2 separate regions of the Homo sapiens genome follow, and region 1 is linked to region 2. Evidence: promoter capture Hi-C in 16 types of primary human blood cells and fetal thymus (Javierre and others, 2016). All regions are on one chromosome and are shown on one strand. Each heading gives the region's core, a stretch centred on a gene start or on the middle of the fragment in contact. The rest is flanking DNA. Distances are from core to core; before and after follow the strand shown. Region 1 holds the start of ATP6V1B1-AS1 (ATP6V1B1 antisense RNA 1). Region 2 holds the start of TEX261 (testis expressed 261).

Region 1 (6,285 bases), core at 345-2,844, 46 kb before region 2:
TGTTTCTACAGCGCCACCTTCTGCCCACATTGAATCACACAGGCAATTACTCTTCCTGCTTCCGTCCTCAAATGTAAGAACATTTGAGGGAAGAATTTTGTGTAGATCAGAGGTTCTTAGCCCAAGGAATTAGGCCCTTGAAATTGTGTGCAGACCTTTGAAGGTATGCATGAATGTGCCTGTGCATTTTTCTGGTAGGAGTTTCTACAGTTTCGTCTGATTTTTCAGGGTTCGTGACCCAGAAAAGTCTAACTCTCTGATTTGTATAAGTTGAACAAGCATCAGAATATCAGGGGTGCAGGGGGCTTGTTAACAGGCAGATTGCTAGGCCCCACCCCAGAGCTCTGATTCAGCATGCCTGGGGTAGGAGGCCCAAGAATGTACATTTCTATCAAGTTCCTAGGTGATGCTGCTGGTATGGGGACCACACGGAGAACCTCTGTTCTAGAGAATCTTCTGACTCCTGTAGTCTGTGATTCAAATTGGTCCCTGTTTGAGAATTGGAGTAAGCACTCACCTTAACCACCAGACTCCATCCCCAATGTCTGTGGCTGCTTTCAAAAGAGTCTGCATCAGCTCTGAAGACAATTTCCAAAGAGGAGCCTCCGCACTGCCCTGGCCATTGTCAGCAGGAGGGACCTTAGAGGCAGCATTCCTGTGCACAAATCCCGACAGGCTTGCTAAGAACTTCCAGTCCTCCGTGTGTAGACAGCAGCTCCCCTGTGCCTGGCCACTTGCTGGTTGAGAGCTCAGTTGAATCTCCAGCACGGGGTTACATTGCACTGAGTCATGCCCTCTTCCTGCAGCCCTCTTAGTAACCGACATCAACCGAGTTGATGGGATCAGGCCTGCTCAGTATGCGGCTGGGAAATAGGGCCCCTTAAGATACAAGCTCCTGGACTAGCTATCCCCCACGGGAATTCTCCCAGGTACCCACTGCCATAACTGGTCATGAGATCCCACCACCAACAACAATAACGACGAACATCCAGCACACACTTAGAGCCTGGGGCTCTTCCTAAAGGTTCCAGACACTACACCCTCCATGCCTGAGTGTGAAAACCTGATGGCCCTTCCCCAGATCTGACCACAATTTCTGCCATTTAAAGTTCATTTTCTCTGATTTTGTCCTTCAGGGACACAGAACGCACCACTCTCCTCTCCACTCTCCTCTCCTGCCACCCTCCCTCTCTCACCCACATAAACTCACATGAAAATGATCACTTTTTTTTTTTCTTTTTGAGACGGAGTCTTGCTCTGTCGCCAGGCTGAAGTGCAATGGCACGATCTCTGCTCACTGCATCCTTCTTCTCCCGGGTTCAAGCGATTTTCCTGCCTCAGCCTCCCGAGTAGCTAGGACTACAGAAAATGATCACTTTTAAATCACTCCACCGCCTGATTTCTTTGGGGCACACTCTGGCCTGTGTTCTGTACAGCAACTTTTCCCCTGAGGTTGAAACAGCCCTCCGTCACCTCCAGGGAGATGACAAATAATGAGGCAGGGCCCGTTTCGTATCGAAACACAGGTTATCAGAGTGGGAGAGGAAAACGAGCCGGGACGTGTGTTCCACGCGTTTCCCAGGCCCTCGCTGTCCGTGCTCCTGGGCTCCCTCTTGTGGTTGAGAACCCAAGACGCCTGGGTGTTCGGAGCTCCTCCCACCTCGGAGCCCTCCTCCCCGGCCGGCCTAGTGCTGAAGCCCCCACTCCGCAAGGCTGAGGGGTGGTTTGGGGAACCACAGGTCACCTTCCTGGCATCCTCTTCACAGGACAAGGGAGGACTCAAGGTAGCGCTCCCTTCCGTGTGATTGTCAGGGCTGCAAACCTAGTCTCAAGTTCGACCAGCAGGGGTTCCCTGGCGGAGTGGTCCCTACTTGGTCACACCTTGCTGGGGAATTGGACCCTCCGCCCCAACCCGCAAGCCCTTAAGGTCACTAGTTTGTGGCCAGTAGGTGATATAACGATAGTAATGATGATGATAATCACCAGCACTGTGCTGTAACATGTCCTAAAAATGTATTATATTTTAATTGCAAAAATAATACATGCTCCTTGTAACTTAGTGAAAAAGAGGAAAGACACGTAAAGTTAACTATCTGCCCCTAACCGCTTTATTCTCAGCCCCGAAAGACCCTGCTGAATACGCTCAAACACAGGCAAATATGTTAGAGGTTGACCTCGGGGTCAGTCCCTTGAGAGCCAAGGGACTGACAGTGGATCCACTGACAGTGTCAGCGGATACACATTTTACGCATTCTTTTGGATACTGGCATAGCAGGCGATAGTATGGATGTACTGTAACTTACTCAATAGTCCCATTATTGACAGACATTCGTATGTTCTCAGGTTTTGCCATTACAAATAGTACAATATTGTATCCCTTTTAAACGGACGCTTTTGTGGTTATAGGATAGATTCCCAGAAGTGGAATTGCTGGTTCAAGTACTTTTTTATTTCAAATTAGATATTGACAATTTGGGGCAAGATGGCTTGCCCAGAAGGGTTGTGGTAATTCACATTTCCACCAACCAGGTATGAGAGGACCCACTTCCCCACATCCTTGCTGGCCCTGAATATGTTCTCTCTGTAGTTTTACCTATCTAATAAATGAAAACTAGTACTGTCTCGCTTTTATTTACATTTCTCTGATAACTAGGAAAGTTGAGTGTCTGTCCATATGTTTACCATTTTGATTTTGCTTCCTTCTCCGTGAAATCTTCCTACCAAGCAAGTTGTGCATACGGGAGCTCCTTGTTTATTGCTCACAGGCTATCTTTTGCAACAATAAATGAAACAAAGATTTCATCTATTGTGTCTCTGCCATACAGAAGTTTGAAATACTCATATGATCAAATATTTTTTGTTTATACCTTCTGAATTTCTTGTCTTGCTTAAAGACATTGCTCATCTGTCTTTTAATTGGATTATTCAGAAAGATAGGAAAGAAGAAAAGCTCTTCCAGTATTTTTTAAAAATTGTTTTTACTTTATATTTAAATTTTTTTTACATGCCTGGAATGTATTTGGGTTTATGATGTGGTTATCTTCTAACTAGATATCCTCTTATGTTCTATATATTATTTCCCCTCTGAGAATTAATTAATATACAACATTTGTTCTATAATAGTCCTATAAAATCTGGGATCTCCTTCTGGACTTTTTTTCTTTCCTACTGATCCATTTGTCTACCTCATATCAATTTACTGCTTGACTTCAGTAGCTTTATAACAAGTTTTAATATCTGAAAAGGCAAGTCCTCTATCTCTGATCTTTTTCATAACTACTTTGGCTATTCTCAGACATTTATGTGAACTTTAAAATAATTTTATTAAATTTTAAAATAAACAATAATCCATTAGGGTTGGATCAAATTTATATACTTTTCAAAAGGATTAATGTTTTTATGCTAGTAACTAAGAACATTAAGACAATAATGTTCTTCATTGTTTAGGACTTGTTTTATGTTATTCCATAATTTTTTTTTGTACCTTTCTTGTTATATTTATTTCTAGCTATTTTATGAGTTTTGGCCCTATTGCAGATGGGATGGTTTTCTCCGTTGCCTCTTCTAACTGGTTACTACTAAAATAGAAAAAAAAGGAGGGGGGGAATGATTTTTAAATATTTATCTTATAAACAGCCAAATTATCTTATTCATTCTAAAACCTTCTTTCTAAACCAGAACCTCTTGAGTCTTTCTAAATGTATAATATAATCTGCAAATAAAGGGAATTATGTCTCTTTTTCCGTCAGTATACTTTTACTTTACTTTTTATTTTGAAACAATTTCAATTTTATAAAAATTTGCAAAGATAAAAATAGTAGTAGGAACATCCATGTCACCAACGGTTAATATATTATCTCATTTGCTCTATCATTTGCTCTCCATGTGTGACTGTGTGTGCATAATTTTTTCCTGATTTTTTTTTTTTTTTTTTTTTTTTTTTGAGACGGAGTTTCACTCTTGTTGCCCAGGCTGGAGTGCAGTGGCAAAATCTTGGCTCACTGCAACCTCCAGCTCCCCGGTTCAAGCGATTCTTCTGCCTCAGCCTCCCGAGAAGCTGAGATTACAGGCGCCCTCTACCACGCCTGGCTAATTTTTGTATTTTTAGTAGAGACAGGGTTTCACCATTTTGACCAGGCTGGTCTCGAACTTCTGACCTCAGGTGATCTGCCCGCCTCGGCCTCCCAAAGTGCAGGGATTACAGGCATGATCCACTGCGCCCGGCCTTCCTGAATCTTTTGAGGGTACGCTAAGCTCAAGTACTTCAGTGTATATTTCCTAAGAATTAAGATATTCTTTTATATAACTACAGTAGAGCTATCAACTTCTGAAATTTATACTGATACAATACTTTAATCTACCATCCACATTCCAATTTATCAGTTTACCTGATATCGGGTAAGCTGATAAATTGGAATGTAGCATTTTTTTTTTCACTCCAGTATAGGATCCAGTCTAGGGTCAGGTATTGCATTTGTCATGTCTGTCTAGCTTCCTATAATCTGGAACATTTTCCCACAGCCCTTCTTTGACTTCCCACAGCCTTTCTTTGACATTTTTGAAGAATACAGTCACCTTCAACCACCACCTTTAAAAAAATAGAACACTCGGCCAGGCGCGGTGGCTCATGCCTGTAATCCCAGCACTTCAGGACGCCGAGGCAGGCAGGTCAGGAGTTCGAGACCAGCCTGACCAACATGGAGAAACCCCATCTCTACTAAAAATACAAAACATTAGCTGGGTGTGGTGGCACATGCCTGTAATCCCAGATACTTGGGAGGCTGAGGTAGGAGAATCGCTTGAACCCAGGAGGCAGAGGTTGCAGTGAGCCAAGATCGCACCATTGCACTCCAGCCTGGGCAACGAGTGAAACTCTGTCTTAAAAAAAAAAGATAAATAAAAATAAATAGAACATTCTCTGTTTATGTTTAATTTTCTTTTTTCTTTTTCTGGTCTTACTGTATAAACAAAAACTTCCAAAACAATGTTAGGTAACAATTATAATATAGGCATCTCTGTTACTGATTTTCATTGGAAATGAAAGTAACGTTAGCATTTTACCATGTACAAGGATGTTGATGTTGGTTTTGGTTAATAGTTTAGTGTTCAAGTAGTTGCCTTCCATTCCTGTTTTATATAGAATTGTATTAGAAACAGATGCTTGGCCAGGCACAGTAGCTCACGCCTGTAATCCCAGCACTTTGGGAGACCAAGGTGGGCAGATCACCTGAGGTCAGGAGTTGGAGACCAGCCTGGCCAACATGGTGAAACCCCATCTCTACTAAAAATACAAAAAATCAGCCGGGCGTGATGGCGCACACCTGTAATCCCAGCTACTTGAGAGGCTGAAGAAGGAGAATTGCTTGATCCTGGGAGGCGCAGGTTGCAGTGAGCCGAGATCTCGCCATTGCATTCCAGCCTGGGGGACAGAGTAAGACTCTGTCTCAAAAAAAAAAAAAACCACACATAAAACAGATGCTGAATTTTATCAGAAGCCTTTTGGCTTCTATTTACATAATCTTATAGGATTCTTTTTTAATCTATGTTGACGAACTCTCTATTATTATGAATTTTGTTATCAAATATTGACAAATTCCCTAAAGTTGATTGCTCTAGTCTTGCATTCTTGGATTAAATCCTACTTGGTCATACATGTTTATTTAATGCACTGCTTGATTAGACTAATAATTTATTTCTGCATCTATATTAATAAGAAATATTGATCTATAGTTTTCCTTTTGGCTCTATCTTTAATGTATTTGGGAATTGGGGGCTTTCTATTTGGTAGTTGTTTCCTTCTAATTGTTATTCATTTTATTTTATTAGCTTAGCTAGTTCCTCCCGTACAAGGCTGAATAGAATGAGAATAGCAGGGATTCTTGCTTTGCTCCTAATTTTAAACGGAATGCTTTATGCATCGTATCATTGAATATCATATTTTTCTGTAGGGTTTGTTTGTTTGTTTGTTTTTTGTTGAGACAGGGTCCCTCTCTGTCACCCAGTGCAGTGGTGCAATCTCAGCTCACTGCAACCTCTGCCTCCTGGGTTCAAGTGATTCTCCTGCCTCAGCTTCCCCAGTAGCTGGGATTACAGGCACCCACTACCACACCTGGCTAATTTTGTATTTTTAGTAGAGATGGGGTTTCACCACGTTGGCCAGGCTGGTCTCAAACTCCTGACCTCAAGCGATCTGCCCACCTCAGCCTCCTAAAATGCTGGGGTTAAAGGTGTGAGCCACTACACCCAGCCTATGTAGGGTTTTTTGAGGATATTCTTTTTGGAGTT
Region 2 (7,014 bases), core at 3,443-5,942:
AGACCAGACGCCCCTAAGAGGCTCTACTCCAAACTCGCAGCAAGGAGAAGGCCTGCTCAAATAAACAAACTGGGCAGCAAGGAGAAGGCCTGCTCAAATAAAAAGGCTCTCACTCCTCAGGAATAAAAGGGCAAGACTTGCTAGATGCTTTGAGGTGCAGTCTTCAGGTTCCTCAACATTCTGGGGGAGGGGGTCCCTCCTCATCCTGCCCCCAGGTAAGGCATACCGGTGTGAACTGATACGTTCTGGACACACACACACACACAGCCACCCCTCCTTGGTGTGTAACTGAGTTTATAAAAGAGGGCACGTGTGCATATCCTGGACACAGGCTGCTCAAGAGACAGTCATCCCTGCCGGTTCCCATGGTGAGGTGAAGGGCAGGCACCAGAAAGAACATGTCCCCTGAAACTGACTGTCCCCTCACACACACCTCACAGCAATTCTCATGTCTCCTTTCTTCTCTCCTGCCTCTCCCATTCTAAGGCAAAGACTACAGTTCTGCTATGCCTAGCCACACTCTAGGGCTAAGAGATAATGGGAGGTAGGATAGTGCCTGGTGCCCACAAGATCTTTTGGAAAAACTCTTTTAGGCATTAAAGGGCAGATCAAGGGAGTGAAGTCAGGGGAGCCTGCTGCTGAGGGGCTGGGGGCAGGACTTCTTCCCTGGACAGAGGGGCCTGGTCTCCATGGAAGGGCTCCCTAACAAACCTCTGCTGAACAAATTCTTTGGTGAAATCACACCCAAGGAAGAAACCAGTTTTGGCTTTAACAATATGCCCTTTGTGTGGATAATATTCACCCTCCAGGCTCTCTCATAGAAATAGAAAAGTCACTCTAAAAAACCCCTAACTCCATCTGATACCCTGACTGAAAGCTAGGGTAGCCAGCAATGATGAACAGGAGCAATGGCAATCTTGGCAACCAAAATACTTTCCGAAGCCTTTTCCAGGAATATCTGTAAATACCTATATGCACCTACTATATGCCCACTGAGTCTCCCAATAGTTCTTTCAGAAACATCCTCTCTGAATAGATGGAGAAGCTAAGGCCCAGAGAGGGCCAATGATTCCCCAGGGTCAGAAAGTGGTGGCAGGGCAACGCCAAGAAGACTGGGTCCTCCACATCCAGGCTCAAGCCCGAGGCAGCGGCAGCCAGTGAGAATGAGATGAGAAGCTGCAGCCCCCAGGAGGCATTCACACCAGGCCAGAGTCTGCAAGGTGCTCACAGCCCCATGAGGCTCCAGTCCTAACAATGACTTTGGGTCAGAGGACTGGACGGACAGCTGCCTGCCTACCGGAAGGGCTTTGGGCTTTTTCTGGCCAAGTGGTTTTTTTGAGGCTGGAACTGCTCAGTTGGGGGCCCTGCCTCAGCCAATCCACAACCTCTTCTTTCCCAAACTCTCCTTCAAACTTACCTCTCTGGGAAAGCCCTCCCTGTCTGAGTCCCCAGCCCCAACAAATTCTATTCACTAGAGCCAAGGTGGGCTCTAGAGTCCTCAGCAGTAAGAACCGCATCTTCCCAACTAGCCTGGCTTCCTGGAGGACTTCAACAGCTGGCTTCCTTTTTCTGTATCCCCTTTAGTGCCCAGGATGGAGATGGGCACACCCAACCACATCAGCTGCCTCCCCAACTCTGTCCCCTCTCACCACACGACAGGATGAAGTTAGGCGAGGTCAGCATGATGAAGGGGAAGGTCTGGAGGAGGCCAAAGTAGACGAGGTTGGTGAATAGGCCCACTCCAATCATGCTGGTGGGGAAGCGCTCAAAGACGTAGAGGCCAATCAGTACAGCGGTGGAGAACTGAAACAACCAGAGGCAGACAGTGCAGGGCGCTTCTTCCAGGCAACGTTCCTGGACTCACCAACCCCCAGCCCGCTCTGGGCAGCACTAGGTTCATGCTTCAATCTCCTCATTTCACAGGTCTGGCCTCCCCAGCTAGGTTCTCTGCTCCCAAAAGGCAACATTTTTTTTTTTTTTTTTGAGACGGAGTCTCACTCTGTCATCCAGGCTGGAGTGCAGTGGCGCGATCTCCTGGATTCAAGCAATTCTCTTGCCTCAGCCTCCTGAGTAGTTGGGACTACAGGCATGCACAACCACGCCCAGCTAATTTTTGTGTCTTTAGTAGAGACAGGGTTTTGCCATGTTGGCCAGGCTGGTCTCAAACTTCTGATGGCCTCCCAAAGTGCTGGGATTACAGGTGTGAGCCACCGCACCCAGCCCATTTCTCAAACTTTTTGACAGCAACCCACAGTAAGAAAAACATCTGCCAGGCGAGGTGGCTCACGCCTGGAATCCCAACACTTTGGGAGGCCAAGGCAGGCAGATCACCTGAGGTTGGGAGTTTGTGACCAGCCTGACCAACATGGAGAAACCCCATCTCTACTAAAAATACAAAATTAGCCAGGCATGGTGGCACATGCCTATAATCCCAGCTACTCGGGAGGCTGAGGCAGGAGAATCGCTTGAACCCAGGAGGCAGAGGTTGCGGTGAGCTGAGATTGTGCCACTGCACTCCAGCCTGGGTAATAAGAGCGAAACTCCATCTCAAAAAAAAAAAAAGAAAAAGAAAAACATTTTACACTGTGACCCCAACACATATATACATATATATGATTCAAAGCTCAAATTTCAATTCTATTTATGTTCCTTTTTTTAAAAAATGCTGATTGTGACCTACTATACAGCCAAATAATGAATCATGCCTACAGTTTGAAAAACACTACTGATAAGTACCTACAGTTGTCAGTGCTTAGCAAATGACAGTTGGCTGAATGAAGGGCTAATTACTGTGCCAACACCCACAAGCTGGGCCTCTGGACCAGAGCTGAGGGCTATAGTCTTGCCTCCACTGTGAACTCCCAACCTCAGCCATGCCCAGAGTGCACATGGCTGCTGACACCAGGCGACTTGAGGGGCTGTGGACGCTTTCTCTCCAATGGCACCCCTACCCCCAGCCTTTCCTGCAGCTGAAGGAAGTCTGTCCACCAGCAGTCACCCCTATGGCTTTGATATCAGTGGCAAGGACTGTGTCTTCAGTAAGAGAAGCCTCCCATGAGACCAGGGAAGGGCGAGGGCAGCGAAGCTGTGCCGATCTTAGGACAAATCACTTGATCCGATTAGAAAGATGGCAATGAACATATATGCAAAACTGTCTTATGGCTCCTCTAAGTTTTAAATGCTGTGAGCAGAGCAAAGGGCTAAAGACAGCGGGAGAGAGCTAAGCAAAGTCAAATCTACGGTCTTGTCAACAGAGAAGTACACTTCGCTGTCACCTTAAGGACTAGAGCACAAGGCCTGCAGTGAAACAATGCCACTTGGGGAAGGCGGCCAGGGAAGATCTGGGCCCAGGAGTGCAGACCCAAAAGACAGCGTTCAGGGCAAGGAGGTAAGAGTGTATGCTCAGGAAACAGCAGAGACACAGGCCTCATCATCCATGCCAAACTCTCCCCACTTCCTGCTTTTGAGGCAGGGCAAAAGAGTGAGGAGGACTCCTGGAGAAAGATGCCACTTACCCAGATCATGTATTTTATGATCCTGCTGGTGGCCACTGTGTATTCTTCTATCAGTTCTGCCAGGTAATAGAGTCCAGCCGCTGCAGGGTGGGAGGCAGGGAGACTATCAGCCAGGGTCACTCCCACCATCCTGGTCACCCCTCTCTCTGCAGCCCAGTCCCCATCCACCCTTCATGGACCCCAGAAGGTCAAGAACAAACCAAACATCCCATGTGTTGCCCTTCCAAGTCTGGAGAAGTAAAACTTTCTTAGGGCAACTAAGGACAAATCTCATAAAAATCAACGAAAGTCTGCATTTGATGCCACAGTACAATGATAACCTCTGGCTCAGAAAACGGAATTTCACGTATTCAATAAACACCTGCTGGGCACTTGGCATGAGCCAGGTCCCTGGGCTGAGAATACAGCTGAAAAAGACAGACAAGGGTCCTTCCCTGACCCAGCTTGGGAAAGGGAAGGGGAACAGTAGGGAGAGACAGACGAGTTTAGTGTGAGAAATGCTACTTTAGGGAAAGGACAGGGCACTGCTGGACCATCAACCCCTGTGGACTTCCCGGAAAAGATGACATCTCAACTGAGGCCGAATGGGAACCAGCCAGAGGAGAAGTGTCAAAGGTGGAGAGAGCAGGGAGCATGAAGGGCCAGAGGCGCAAAGGCGGCGGTAGGCGTTGGGGAAAAGTTCCGCGCGGCAGGCCCGCGAAGAGTGGGAGCCGCAGCGGTTAGCGGTCCGCAGACGCGGGGGCGGCACTCGAGTCACCCTTTCTCGGGCAGTGCCGGAGCGGACTCTGTGACACCTGGAAGGAGCCACGGTCAGGCCGGGCTGCCAGGCTCGACAGGAGGGGCAGGATCAGGCGGGAAGGGGTTGGGGCGGCGAAGGCCGGGAGCGCCGGGCAGTGGTCCCCCGAGTGGCTCCGAAACCCCCGCGATGCGACCCCCAACGAGCACCGATGCCGGGGCGGGAGCCCGCGCGGGCCGGGGTCGTGCAGTCTCACCGACAGCCAGCGTGATGAAGGCCACCTGGATGAAGAGCGACAGCCAGCTCAGCAGGTACATGAACCACATGGCGCCCCCACCCGCCCGCTCCCCGGCCACCGGGACGGGCCTGCGCGCTTCGGCTCCGGCGACACACAGCCGCCACCGCCGCCGCCGCCGCCGCGTCCCCGCCCCGCGGACGACAGGACGACGGTGCGCCGCCGCCGAGAGGAGCCCGGCCCTAGCGCTGCCCGGGGCCAGGCTCGCGCTAGCGCCGCCCGCCGGAGAGGAGGGCCAACCGCCGCTGCCCCGCCAGGATCCCCCGCTCCACTGAGGGGAATGAATGCAGACCGCTGCAGCCAGAGGGAGGCGGGACGGTGCCCAGGGGCGGAGACGACCAAGCGCCCATACTGGGGCTCGGAGTGCAGCCTCCAGTCCCTCCCTGTGCACTCCCGTACCAGCCTGGAGGTGGTCCAGGGCCGGACAGGGCCGCCCGACCGCGCCCCAGCAACCTCCCCAGAACCTGCCTCCCGGCAGGTTGCGGACAAGTCTGTCTCTTGCTATCGCAGGTGATAGGGACAAAATTATTGAATTCCTAATATGTGCCACGCTCTGTGATAAAGGCGAGGTGTGTTCTTGTCGGAAATTTGAGCAGATAATGTAAATCATTTTATAGACGGGGAAGCCGGGGCCAAAGGAAGTTGCCCTGGGTCATGCACCTAGGAAGCGGCACAATCAGGAGTTGGGGTGATTTTAATCGGTCATCCTCCGGCCTAATTCCCCTCTAGGCTGTTCTTTTGGGGTACATTCTGCACCTTTGTATCGCCTGCACCTCACCCCTTGCCGGGCACGCAGGGCGTCCGCTAGGCGCTGGATGCATTTACTACACCTCTGGGAGGGTTCCTGAGGGGCACCTGGAACCGGTTAGTCCTTGTCAACAAGTCTCCCATCTAGTGGCGGAGACAGGCATGCAAAATAAAGTATGTAGAACAAGAGTCTAGTAGGCTTATTTCAGAATCATATTTTTCCTGCATAAAAATACGTATTCCTAAAAAAAACAATTACCGTATGATTTAGCAATTCTACTTCTGGGTATATACCCAAAAGAACTGAGAAAGCAGAGACATTTGTATACCAATATTCATAGCATTATTCACAATGGTCAGAAGAGGGAAGCAACCCAAATGTCCATCGGTTGACGAAAAGATAGACATAAAGTGCTATAAACATACAATGGAATATTATCTAGCCTTAAAATGAAGTGAAATTCTGACACATGCTACAACATCAATGAACCTTGAAGGCATGATGCTAAGTGAAATAAGCCAAATAGGGAAGGACACACATTGTATGATTCCCCTCATATGAGGTACCCAGAGTAGTCAAAATCATGGGCAGAAAGTTAAATGGTGCTTGCCAGGGTCTGGGGGACAAAGAATGGGGAGTTACTTTTTAATGGATACAGGGTTTCAGTTTGGGAAGATGGATGGTGCTGATGGCATCACAACAGTGTGAATGTGCTTAATGTCACTGAATTGTATACAGTGTTACAGAATTGTAAAATGGTTAAAACGGTCAATTTTATGTTATGCATAGCTTCCCCCTCCCCCCAACAAAATACATAAGATTACAAAGCCCATCCTGGCTAACACGGTGAAACCCAGTCTCTACTAAAAATACAAAAAATTAGCCGGGCTTGGTGGCGGGCGCCTGTAGTCCCAGCTACTCAAGAAACTGAGGCAGGAGAAGAGCGTGAACCCGGGAGGCAGAAGTTGCAGTGAGCCGAGATTGCGCCACTGCACTCCAGCCTGGGCGACAGAGCGAGACTCCGTCTCAAGAAAAAAAAAAAAAAAAAGATTACAAAGCAGGCTGGGCACAGTGGCTCATGCCTGTAATCCCAGTACTTTGGGAGGCTGAGGTAGGAGGATCACTTGAGGCCAGGAGTTCAAGACCAGCCTGGGCAAAGAAAAATTTTAAAATGGCCAGGCATGGTGGTGCGTACCTGTAGTCGCAGTTACTCTGGGCTGAGGCAGGAGGATTACTTGAGTCCAGGAGATGGCGGCTGCAGTGAGCTATGATTGGGCCACTGCATTCCAGCTGGGATGACAGAATGAAAACTTGTCTCAAAAAAAAAAAAAATTGCAGTTGCCGGGCGCGGTGGCTCACGCCTGTAATCCCAGCACTTTGGGAGGCCGAGGCGGGAGGATCACGAGGTCAGGAGATTGAGACCATCCTGGCTAACACGGTGAAACTCTGTCTCCACTAAAAAATACAAAAAAAAAAATTAGCCGGGCATGGTGGCGGGCGCCTGTAGTCCCAGCTACTCAGGAGGCTGAGGCAGGAGAATGGCGTGAACCCGGGAGGCGGAGCTTGCAGTGAGCCGAGATCGCGTCACTGCACTCCAGCCTGGGGGACAGAGGGAGACTCCGTCTCAAAACAAAAACAAAAACAAAAATAAAACAAAAAAGATTACAAAGCAAACCAATTATATAGAAATGCAAGTATTAAACTATTTTTAGAAAACCAA

The links. The method cuts DNA at HindIII sites, captures the fragments that hold promoters and counts their contacts. A CHiCAGO score of 5 or more calls a contact.
Region 1: a contact is called between the fragment with the promoter of ATP6V1B1-AS1 here and the fragment with the promoter of TEX261 in region 2, in 1 of 17 cell types (erythroblasts). The highest score is 5.8, in erythroblasts.

The regions. Positions count from the first base shown.
Region 1 is chr2:70,947,017-70,953,301 of GRCh38, forward strand. ATP6V1B1-AS1 (ATP6V1B1 antisense RNA 1) reads right to left here and starts at 1,595. Exons shown (of 2, transcript NR_110274.1): 1 at 1,211-1,595. All of the region lies in intron 2 of ATP6V1B1 (ATPase H+ transporting V1 subunit B1), which reads left to right. The HindIII fragment of the contact is 10,354 bases long and covers 1-6,285 here.
Region 2 is chr2:70,990,181-70,997,194 of GRCh38, forward strand. TEX261 (testis expressed 261) reads right to left here and starts at 4,693. Exons shown (of 6, transcript NM_144582.3): 1 at 4,508-4,693; 2 at 3,516-3,595; 3 at 1,650-1,803. The coding sequence starts at 4,577. RefSeq lists silencers at 4,265-4,354, 4,385-4,914 and an enhancer at 5,455-5,504. The HindIII fragment of the contact is 23,402 bases long and covers 1-7,014 here.